Regions from separate parts of the Homo sapiens genome. Here region 1 is linked to region 2. The links are contacts of gene promoters, found by promoter capture Hi-C in blood cells and fetal thymus (Javierre and others, 2016). All regions are on one chromosome and are shown on one strand. Each heading gives the region's core, a stretch centred on a gene start or on the middle of the fragment in contact. The rest is flanking DNA. Distances are from core to core; before and after follow the strand shown. Region 1 overlaps PSMD3 (proteasome 26S subunit, non-ATPase 3). Region 2 holds the start of NEUROD2 (neuronal differentiation 2).

What was found. The method cuts DNA at HindIII sites, captures the fragments that hold promoters and counts their contacts. A CHiCAGO score of 5 or more calls a contact.
Region 1: a contact is called between a fragment that was not itself captured here and the fragment with the promoter of NEUROD2 in region 2, in 1 of 17 cell types (naive B cells). The highest score is 5.2, in naive B cells.

Annotation. Positions count from the first base shown.
Region 1 is chr17:39,984,956-39,991,122 of GRCh38, forward strand. PSMD3 (proteasome 26S subunit, non-ATPase 3) reads left to right here. Exons shown (of 12, transcript NM_002809.4): 3 at 1,620-1,757; 4 at 3,728-3,864; 5 at 4,784-4,974; 6 at 5,139-5,242. LOC124904000 (a long non-coding RNA gene) reads right to left here. Exons shown (of 3, transcript XR_007065751.1): 2 at 3,639-3,940; 3 at 1,743-1,827. Among named protein-coding and RNA genes, the nearest start is that of PSMD3, 7.2 kb to the left of the region's middle. The HindIII fragment of the contact is 2,588 bases long and covers 2,194-4,781 here.
Region 2 is chr17:39,606,223-39,611,906 of GRCh38, forward strand. NEUROD2 (neuronal differentiation 2) reads right to left here and starts at 1,698. Exons shown (of 2, transcript NM_006160.4): 1 at 1,506-1,698; 2 at 1-382. The coding sequence starts at 377. The HindIII fragment of the contact is 7,147 bases long and covers 16-5,684 here.

The DNA.
Region 1 (6,167 bases), core at 2,238-4,737, 380 kb after region 2:
TTGGGAGGCTGAGGCGAGCAGATCGTTTGAGTCCAGCCTGGATTCAAACAATCTGCCCGCCCAGGAGTTTGAGACCAGCCTGGGCGACATGGTGAGACCCTGTCTCTGCAAAAAGTACAAAAATTAGCCAGGCATGGTGGCACCTGCCTGTAGTCCCAGCTACTCGGGAGGCTGAGGCAGGAGGATCACTTGAATGCAGGAGGTGGAGATTGCAGTGAACCAAGATTGCACCACTGCACTCTAGCCTAGGTGACAGGGTGACCCCCCTACCTCAAAACAAAACAAAAAAAACCCCACAGATTTTAGAGGTAGAGTTGAATTTGAATCCAAACCCTGACAGTTAGTACCTGTGGGACTTGGGCGAGTGACTTCATTTTGCTGTGCCTCGTTTTCTTCATTTGTTAAACGTGATGAACGGATTGGGAAGCGGGCAGTATAAAGCTCCTAGAGCAGTGCCTGGTACGTAGTGAATGCAGACGAAGTCAGTTTGGTGGTGGTGGTGGCGCCTCCGTGCCAGGAGAGACCTCTCCTTATCCTCTGTAGCTGTAAACTCTCCCTCATGATTCATGGCATGGGCCAGGTCTCAGCCTTCTCCAATTCCACTGACCTTCCAGCACCTGCATTTCCTTAAAATCCTGTATACTCAGTCAGCTCCGTGGATGGGGAAACTCAGAACATCCCTGGAGGCAGGGCAGTGAAGAGTTTCTTGTCTGGGAAAGGGGAAAAGCGTACTGTTCCCCCAACTCCACCTTGAATATTTTCTGACCTTCACATCGCTAAACTCACGAAACGTGATTATTTTGGGGGTGACTGTAACACATTATTTTTTCCAGTGTCAGTGACAACATAGGAAAATATGTTTTGTTTATATGTTGACTTTCCCTAAATTTTCTTTGTTCCCACAAGAAACCATTTTTTGGTCTCATTATTCTGATTTCATCTCTAGAATTATTTCGTTCAGCCCTGTCCAGTAGTATTTGCAGTGGATCCAGGTGTGGTGGTTTAATGTCTCCACTTAGGTTGTAGCCTCTTTGAAGGTTCCTTACATCGTCCTTTGTCTCCATTATGTTGTGTAAAGAAATTTTTTGTTCTCCTGTAACACTTTATTGTGTTTATTAATATTATATTGCCAGCCTCCTTGACTTGTTTTGTTTTTTTGAGATGGGGTCTTGCTCTGTCACCCAGGCTGAAGCACGGTGGCACACTTATGGCCCAGTGCAGGCTCAGACTCCTGGTATCAAGCAGTCCTCCTGCCTCAGCCTCCTGAGTAGCTGGGAATACAGGTGCATGCCACCATGCCTGGCTAGTTCTTTTTTATTTTTTGAGAGATGGGGTCTCACTGTGTTGCCCAGACTGGTCTCAAATTCCTGGCCTCAAGCATTCTCCTGCCTCAGCCTTCCAGGTAGCTGGCACTACCGGCGTGAGCCACCACACCCAGCTCCTCCTTGATTTCTTTGGGAAAGACTGTAATCTTTATTTTTTTATCCCTAGCACCTAACAAAATCTTGGCACATGGTAGACACTCAATAAATATGTTGAAATACATAGTGGATGCTCAATAAATTCTTGGTTACTTGATCAGACTGAGCTTTTCCATGGTAACTTCTGTCCTCTCCTAGCCCATGGACACAGAGGCTGATTTACAGTTCCGTCCCCGCACGGGAAAAGCTGCGTCGACACCCCTCCTGCCTGAAGTGGAAGCCTATCTCCAACTCCTCGTGGTCATCTTCATGATGAACAGCAAGCGCTACAAAGAGGTATCCAGGATGCAGTGAGAGCGATTCATAAGCCCCAAGTGATGCAAGGGGTTTGGCGGGGAGATGGTCCCTGGTGAAGAAATGGAAATAATCATTGATTCTTAAGAACTGTCCCCCACACTCTTTCCCCATAGAGGTATGCGTTTGATCCCACATCCCAGGAGAACCCACTCTTGCTCTGGGCACTGTGGGACAGGGCTTGCAGTGGTCATGCTGTACCGGTCTGTGGGGGATACCAGCGTAGTACATTCTTGGGGAAAAGTAGGGGCATTTGGAGACAGAAAGACCTGGGTTCCAATCCCAGCCATACCCTAGGCAAATTAATTTCTCCCAGCTATATGTAAGATGGGGATAATAGTGCCTACCTTACAAGATGGTTAGCGTTACATAAAATAATTTGTTTAGAAATACTTAGCGCAATGATCTGCATATAGTAAGCTTTCGTGATATTTTCATAAATGGTAGCTGTTATTATGGACTAATAGCTCCATTTGCAAACTGCACTTCTACCACTCCCCCAGCTAGGGCCAGCTTCTTTGTTCATCATAGCCACTGTCACAGGAGCACACTCAGGAAGTAAGTCGCACTCCTTAATTCCCTGGTTTGTTTCCTTTCCTTACCACACTATTTTTGGTTGTTGTTTGGTTGGGGGTTTTTTTGAGATTGGGTCTTGCTTTGTTGCCCATGCTGGAGGGCAGTGGTGTGATCACAGTTCACTTGACCTCCCCGGCTTAAGTGATCCTTCCACCTCAGCTTCTTGGGTAGCTGGGACTACAGGCATGTGCCACCACGCCCAGCTAATCTTTGCATTTTTTTTGTAGAGACAGGATTTCACCTTCTTGCCAAGCTGGTCTCCAACCCCTGGGCTCAAGTGATTTCCTGGGCTCAGCCTCCCAAAGTGTTAGGGTTACAGGCATGAGCCACTGCGCCTGGCCCACTGTTTTGTTTTTACTGGAGATGGGGTCTTGCTATGTTAACCAAGCTGGTCTTGAACTCCTGGGCTCAGGTAGTCCTCCCGCCTCAGCCTCTCATGTAGCTGGGATTACAGGCACGTGCCACTGTACTTGGCTGTTTGTTTTTGAGATATAATTCACCCCTTTAAAGTGTACTACAGGCCAGGTATGGTGGCTCACGCCTGTAATCCCAGCACCTTGGGAGGCCAAGGCAGGCAGATCATGAGGTCAGACAATCAAGACCATCCTGGCCAACATGGTGAAACCCTGTCTTTACTAAAAATACAAAAAATTAGCCGGGCGTGGTGGTGTGTGCCTGTAGACCCAGCTACTCAGAAGGCTGAGGCAGGGGAATTGCTTGAACCAGGGAGGCGGAGGTTGTGGTGAGCCGGGATTGTGCCACTGCACTCCAGCCTGGTGACAGAGCGAGACTCCGTCAAACAAATAAATAAAGTATACTACAATTGAGTGGGTTTTAGTATATTCCCAAAGTTGTATATCCACCCCTAATTCCAGAACATTTTCATCACCCCACAAAGAAACACCATACGTATTAGTAGTCACTTTTCATTTTCCCCTTACCCAGCCCCTGGCCGCTACTAATCTGCCCTGTCTCTATTGAGGATTTACTTACTCTGGACATTTCATGTAAATGGAATTACACACCGTGTGCCCTTGGTTTCTGGCTTTTTTCACTTAGCATCATGTTTTCAAGGTTGACCCATGTTGTAGTGTGTGTCAGTACTTCCTTCCTTTTTAAGGCTGAGTAATATTCCCTCGTGTGGATGTGCCACATTTTGTTTATCTGTTCATCAGCTGACGGGCACCTGGGTTGTTTCTACTCTTTGGTTATGAATAATGCTTCTGTGAACATTCGTGTACATGCTTTTATGTGAGCCTAAGTTTCCAGTTCTCTTGGCTTGCATACCTAGGATAGGAATTGCTGGCTCAAATGACAACTCCATGTTTATCCTTTTGAGGAACTGCCACTTGATTCTCTTTTGGCTTCCTCCCCAGGCACAGAAGATCTCTGATGATCTGATGCAGAAGATCAGTACTCAGAACCGCCGGGCCCTAGACCTTGTAGCCGCAAAGTGTTACTATTATCACGCCCGGGTCTATGAGTTCCTGGACAAGCTGGATGTGGTGCGCAGGTACAGGCAGCCAAGCATCTCACTTGGGGTCCGTGGGGTCAGAGACTTGGTCAGTCACAAGCACACAGCTGTGGATCTGCAGAGGGCGAAGAACCTGTAGATGTAAGCAGGGAAGAGGGGCAGTGGTTCCCATGCCCTGCGCCACGTGAGGGGTGTGGGAGAGAGACTGGTGCTAGATGAAGAAGTGGGTCACTGCTGGGCTGTAAAGAACTGTCCCCAGGTTCTTCCCTTCACCCCACATCAAGGTAGGACTGAGGGTGGGTTAGGGGTGGAGGGACAGGCTAGAAAACATTTTACTTCTTTGCTCAAAACCTGCAGTGGCTTCCCGTCTCAAGGAAAGACAAAGTCCTTACAATACCTCATAAGGCCTGACGTGATCTGCTCCATTTTGACCTCCCAGACTTCACCTCCTCCTGCTCCTCAGCCCCACTGGCCTGCCTTTCCTCTGGTGTGCCCGGCACACTCTTCTTCAGAGCCTTTGCACTGGCTGCCCCTCTGTCCAGAACACTCTTCTCTCCGCCTCCTTCAAGCCTTCCCTTAACTGATCCCTTCTCAGTGAGTCCTGCCTTGGCCAAGCTATTGAAAAGTTCAACTCATCTTTCTCACGTCCTGCATTCCCCATTGCAGTTCCCCTGGCCTCACAGGCCTCCCATCTTCTGTCACACTGCAGGCTGTGCTTCTTTCTCATGACCATTGCCTCCCCCACTGCACTGCATTCCCTAAGGGCAGGGTTTTGTCCCTTTGTCGCACCCAGAATAGTGCTGTACACCTTAGGCACTCGATAGTTAACAGTATTCAGCAAATAACCAGAAAAGCAATTTGTATAACTTTTTTAAGGAATTGAGAAAGAGCGAAGAGTTAAAGGCAGTTCAGAGAGTTGTGATTTGAAGGCTTTGACATCTTTCTTTCCTTCTTGAAGCTTCTTGCATGCTCGGCTCCGGACAGCTACGCTTCGGCATGACGCAGACGGGCAGGCCACCCTGTTGAACCTCCTGCTGCGGAATTACCTACACTACAGCTTGTACGACCAGGCTGAGAAGCTGGTGTCCAAGTCTGTGTTCCCAGAGCAGGCCAACAACAATGAGTGGGCCAGGTACCTCTACTACACAGGTGAGCAGAGGGGCCCAACCCATAAATCAGAAGGTGTCTCAGGCCTGCCTGGTGCAAATTTTCCAAGGGGTGGTGCATAAGAGGCCCATTTGGCACCCTGGCTTGTCGGTGGGGAGTTGGATGACCCTACTCTGTTGACCAACTCTCCTCTCCTCCACTCCCAGGGCGAATCAAAGCCATCCAGCTGGAGTACTCAGAGGCCCGGAGAACGATGACCAACGCCCTTCGCAAGGCCCCTCAGCACACAGCTGTCGGCTTCAAACAGACGGTGAGCCACAACTACCATCATCCCTTTGCCTCTTTTTTTTTTTTTTTTTTAAATGGTGTCTTGCTATGTTACCTGGGCTGGTCTTGAACTCCTGGGTTCAAGAAGTCCTCCCACCTCAGCTTCCCAAAGTGCTGGGATCACAGGTATGAGCCACCATGCCTGGCCCCTTTGCCTGTTACTCATTCCCTACCACTTCAGTTCTCTTCTCTATGCTAGGGGCTAGGAAAGGCATCCTTAACCTTCCTATCCAGAAGGACTTCAACTTTTATTATTATTTTTTGTGTGTGTGGAGACAGGCATATCACTGTTGCTCAGGTGAGAACTCCTGGGCTCAAGCAATCCTTCGGCCTCTGCCTCCCTAAGTGCTGAGATTGCAGGTGCGAGCTGCCATGTCTGCAAAAGGTTGCTTCACATCTATTTGTGGGTGTCAATGAAGCAGACACTACCTGCACCTCTGGCAGTGGATATTCAGAGTGTTTCTGGCAGATAGGTTTAGAATATTCCTGATTCCCCAGCGCTCCTGACAGTCATTCCAGGCTTGGACCTAGATTGTGTTGATACAAACCCCAGGTTTTTATCTAGTCCTTCATGTTCACATTTGGAAACTGTATTGTCTGTGGCCAAGGAACCCAGAAAATCTCTGCAAGGCTGAGTGGCTCAAGTAAACATAAAACTTGGCCACTTAAGAGCTGTCAGTCAGCAAGTATTTAAGCATCAACCTTGGTATTAGGCACTGTAAGGGATAGGAAGGGAGGATAATAAGTGATCTTTCTTTCTTTTCTTTCGTTTTTTGTTTTCTGAGACAGAGTCTCCCTCTGTCACTCAGGCTGGAGTGCAATGGCACGATCTTTTCTCACTGCAACCTCTGCCTCCCGAGTTCAAGTGATTCTCCTGCCTCAGCTTCCTCAGTAGCTGGGCAGGCGCC
Region 2 (5,684 bases), core at 448-2,947:
GCCTTCTGCCGCCGAAGCTTGGAGCGCTCCAAGCGCGCCTTGGTCATCTTGCGCTTCTTGGGCCCGCGCTTCTTGGGCCGCTCGCCCTCCGCCTCGTCCAGTCCTTCTTCCTCCTCCTCTTCCTCCTCCTCCTCTCCCCCCAGCTCGCCTTCCTCCTTGACCTCGGCCAACGTGGCCTCCGTCCCCTCTTCTCCACGGAGAGGGACTGGCTTGGCCGCCCGGGCTGGCCCCGGAGCCCCTGGCCCGGGCGCAGGCGGTGGCGGTGGCGGCGCGTCGCCCTTGTCGCTCCTCGGCTCGTCGTCTTCGCCGTCGCCCCAGCTGGCGAACTTGGGCACGTCCGAGAGAAGGCCGGGCTCGCTGAACAGGCGGGTCAGCATGGTGCCTGAGGGCGCCCCGCGGGCGGGAAGGGGAGACAGACAGCACAAAGTGAGGGGCGCGCTGGGGTACCGACGCCCCCCCACAACCCTCCTCCACCCCCGAGTCTCGTGCGGGCTCCTGCCTAGGCTACCCTGGATGCCCACCTCCGCCGCCTGCCCCGCCCAGAGCCGGCCCAGCCCTACCCGGCTGCCGGCCTGGGATCTCGGCCCAGGCCCTCTCCCCGGCGCTGGGCCCCGGCTCCGCCCCTCGCTTGAATGGGGGGCTGCTCCCCGCGCCTGCTTCTTCTCAGGGTCAGGGCAGGGACCGGGTGGGGGTTTTAGGGACCAGATATCTTTGCCAGGGGAGGCGGCGCGCTCGCCCTGAAAGCCCGTTCTCTCCTGGCGGTGGAGAGAGGCTGGTCGGCCGCCGGTGGGGACAGCTGCCCCGCTCCGCGCTCTCGCGGCCCGGGCCCCCCGGCCCAGCTCCCTCACCCCTCCCGTGGCTCTCACCCCCACGCTCCCTAATCCAATTTGCAACTTGGCTGCGCGCCGCCCCTTGCTCGGCCCCCACCCCCGCACCCCCAATTCCAGAGGCGGGAGGATCGTCTCCTCTAGCCGATGCGTCCCCAGCTCCCGGAGCCGGCTCTGGGCGGCGAGGACTGAAGCAGCGGGGCGTGGGGAGGAGACTGAGAGAAGCGAGCCCAGTCCGTCCCCTCTGCGGTCAGGGACCCCCTTCCCCCTTCAAGCTGACTCCCTCCCACAAGGCTCTTCAGATCTCGTTGTATTTTGGGATTGATGGGGGAAAAATCCAAATTTGTTTGTTTGCTTCCCTTTTTTCGGTGGTGGGGAAAGGTGGCAGGCTTTTTGGGACAACCATGGAGGGGTCCTCCGTCTCGGCCTCTTCGCATATCCCCCTCCGTGATCCTGCCTTCCCCCCCCACCGAGCCCATCGCAGGCAGAGACACCTCCTCTGCAGCCCCCTGGGCTGCAGCCCCTAAGGGAGAGAGAACCTGGGGCCCCTCCGATGCCCACCCAATGAGGGGGGCATCATCCCAGGAAGGAGGTATTTGAGGACCCTCCTGTCGGCCGAAGCTGCCGCCCCTCCTCCCAACCGGCGGGTCAGATCTCGCTCCCTTTCGGACAACTTACCTCGGAGAGGAGTCAAGGGGAGAGGGGAGGGGAGGGGGGGAGGGGGCAAGAGAGAGAGGGGGGAGAAGAGGGATCTTCTCGCTTATTTCATTGTTCCCCCATCTTCAGGGAGCGGGGGCAGCGGCTCCTCAAGGCGGCGGGCGCCGGCGTCTTCAGAGCGCCATGCGAACCGCGGAGCGAGTGTGGCATCTCTACCAGGCGGGGTACCAGCCTCTATGCCAGGCCATATGGGCTTGGCACGTCACGGGCAGCAGCTATCACATGAGAGACGGTGATTGGCATGCGTCTGCACTGGGGGAGAGCCGGCTCCCCCGGGACCCGCCGCCATCTGTCACTCTCTACTCCAAAAAAAAAAAAAAAAATTAAATAAATAAAGGAAATAAATAAATATTTCTGCCGCCCTCCCCTCCCCGCCCAACGCAGGGAAAGCAGGGATTGAGAGGAAGGTGGGAGGAGTTGCCCCCTGTATATAGAGACCCCCTCACGGGAACAATGGGGTGGCAAGGCTGGACACTGGGGGCTCGTGGTGGCCAATTCTATGCTCCCTCAGGGTCCCGCTCTGTCCATTTCCTCCCCTGCAGGCCCCCAAGGTGGGTCAGGGACCAGACCCCGGGTTGGGGAGAAAGGACCTCTGTGCTTGCCCCCACTCCCCAGGAGGGTCCCCTTGGCCACAAAGGGACAGCTGAGACCCCCTCCCAGGATGGCTGTAAGGGGCGTCCCTGGCCCGAGCCCCATAGGTAGATGTTGGCACCATGCCATCCCTCATCCCTGTCTGCCCCTCCCCCACCCACCCTCACGCACACACAACATATGTGGCTAAACGAAATTCAAACCAAGGGAAAGACAGAGAAAGGGAAAGATGTGCCTGGATGTCTGTGCCTCTGCATGGGCGTGTGTGTGTCTGTGGGGACATGTGTGTATCTGTGGAGTCAGCCGATGGGAGATCTTTCCTTGGTTGTTGGGGGCGTATCCATGTTAGGGTGGAGTGGGGAGGGGCCGCGAGATGAGCCTGTGCACCACCCATCTGGGGGTGGAGGGGAGGGTCTAAGTCTGGATTCCTAACCTAGAAACCTCTCACTCTCCTCCTCCCACTGCCAGACAGGTGACCAGTCCACCAGCGGCTTTCTCTCCTGGTCTTCAGACTTGGTTATTTGAGGGAGGAGGAGCAGGCAGTGCTGAGAACTGCCTAAGTTCCTGGATGAGACTCAAGCATTCTCCTCCCCTTCTGAAAAATCTGAAAATACTGAAGCCAACCCCAGTAATCCCAAGAGTGGCCAAGGGGAGGTAGGTCAGACAGCTGTCTTGATAAGGGAGGTAGGAAGTTGCTGTTTTATCTTGTGGCTCACCTTTCAACACTCTCATTGGGCCAGACACAGATACAAATGGCACAGGTTGAAGAGGTGGCTTTGGACACACACACACACACTCATGCACACACACATACACACACACACGGATGCATACACATGCACACATATACCTGTTCCTCACCCTGTGGTGTAGAAAAATAGATAACATACCCCTACTCAGATAGACACATGTATGTGAGCAGGTAATCACAGCCTGGTGTAGACAGACCCTTGCCCACACCCCATTTGGAGCATTTGTATGTTTTAGACCCACATTTCTGCCCCTCCAGACACTCTAGCTGACATATATACACAACTTCAATTATACTTTCAGCACACACATTTTGATGTCTACCATGTGCCAAGCACTGTGGTGGTACAAAAATGAGCACGGGGAGGCCTTTACCCTCAATCTGGGTGGGCAGGGCTCTCTCCCTCTAGGAGGCTCCCCAGGGACCTTGGGCTGGTAAGACACTGATCTGATGTTGGGTAGGTTGGATTAAGTTCTAAATAGAGACACACATCAGGAGGCCTTGGAGATAGGGGTGCTGGTGCTGCCTGGGACTCTTGAGTCACTTGGCTGGGAGTTGAAAGTAGCCTGAGAATGTACCTCTCCAACTCCTCATCTTACAGAGGCCCATGGAGGGAAACTGACCTGCCTAGGAACACACAGGGGAAACACAGAACTGGGCCTAGAATTCAGGCACTTGACCCACAGACCAGTACTCCACTTATAAGCCCACAATCTGCCTCAGTGGTCTCTAAAAATAAGCCTACCATGCTTCCCTTCATTCACGAATCCTGGGTCTGCAAGGCGAATCCCATCTCTGGCAGATAGTCGTGGTGGGGAGATTCTGGGCATGGCAGAGAAAGAGGCCAAAGGATGGGCTTCAGGTAGGGCAGAGACTCAGGAGTGCTGGCCAGCCTCCACCAAGTTTGGGCACAGCCTCCAAGGCTTTGCAATCCTTTTACTGAAGCAGGGTCCTCAATCCTGACTAGTAGCCTTTTTCCTGGAGTCTCCTGGCTCTGTGATATTTCAATTACATGCCCATGCTCTGGGCTTCTGATTCCTGGCCAACCCCATTACCAACTTAAAAAAATGTTGGTCCCAGCCAGGCATGGTGGCTCACGCCTGTAATCCCAGCACTTTGGGAGGCCGAGGCGGGTGGATCACGAGGTCAGGAGATTGAGATCATCTTGGCTAACACGGTGAAAACCCATCTCTACTAAAAATACAAAAAATTAGCAGGGCATGGTGGCGGGCGCCTGTAGTCCCAGCTACTCGGGAGGCTGAGGCAGGAGAATGGCGTGAACACGGGAGGCGGAGCTTGCAGTGAGCCGAGATCGCACCACTGCACTCCAGCCTGGGCGACAGAGTGAGACTCCGTCTCAAAAAAAAAAAAAAATGAGAGGCCCAGCATGGTAGCTCACACCTGTAATACCAGCAGTTTGGGAGGCTGAGGCCAGCAGATCCCTTCAGCTCACAAGTTCGAGACCAGCCTGGGCAGCATTGTGAAACCCTGCCTCTGCCTAAAAAACAAAAATTAGCCAGGCATGGCGGCGCATGCCTGTAGTTCCAGCTACTCGGGAGGCTGAGGTGAGAGGATCGCTTGAGACCGGGAGGCAGAGGTTGCAGAGAGCTGTGATCACGCCACTGCACTCCAGCCTGGGTGATAGAGCCAGACCTTGTCTCAAAAAAAAAAAAAAAGTGCTGAATGCTTTGAGCAAGTTATATAACATCTCTTGGTCTTGATTTCCTCATCTGTAAGATGGGATAAATTATGCTACACCTTCATAGGGTTGTTGTTAATACTAAATGGGATAATCCATTCCATGAATGAGCCTCCAATAAATGCCAACTCTTAATTAAAACACCTTGGGAACTGTAAAATGCTTTACAATATTAATTTTTTTTGCTCATACCCCTCCCCACACACATTCAGAATGCTTGGTCTATATAGAAATTGAATTTTTGTTGAATTGATGGGCGAGTGAATGGATGAATAAGTGAATAAATGCTTCCTTAGGGGAGAAAGTTTTCTCTCCCTGCCTTCTCCCTTGGACCCTGAGGGCTGGGTTAAACGCTTCAGGGGTCTCACAGGCAGGAGGCAAAAACTTGTTCAAGATAGGGGAGCCCTTGGTTGGGGGGTTCCTGCCACCCTTCCGGCCACCTGTCAGGAATGACCTCAACTCTCTGGGTCTGAGAAGCTCCCCTCAGTCACCCAGAGAAGGAGGTCTGAGGTTGGGGGTGTGCACCTGGGGACTTCATCCCTTTCGCTCTGTCTCCTGCCCCTGTCTTTTCTTCCTTCAGAAAAATGGAACAAGTTTTTCTCACTCGACACATTTCAACTTTTTTTTAGAAGATACAATAAAAACCAGGGGAAAATTGGAACAGAGGGAGGTGTGGGATGGGCCTGCTTCAGACATGGGCTTGAAAGAGGCACAACACGTGTGTTCACATACACACAAGCAAGCATGAACACGCAGGGACATACGCGCGCCTCTCTGTGCACCAGAGATGCAGAGATGCAGTGACGGAGAGACAGAAAGAGCCAGAAATGGAAGGAAGGAGACGGAAGGAGAAGGACACCCAGAGATGCCATCTGTTCCTCCCCCTGGCATTGGGGGAAGGGAGTTGGTGAGGGGCCTGGTCCCCTCCAGGTCTCTGAGAGAAAAAAGGGAGTGATGGGCACCTCAGCCAGGCCTGGAAGGCCCCCATTGCTGCTGCCCACTCCTCTTGGAAGGAGCTAGGAGCTGGGGGGCCTGAGGTTCCCATGGAGACATAGCCCCATCCCAAGGGAGGCCACAGTCTGGGCACCTAAAATGGCTG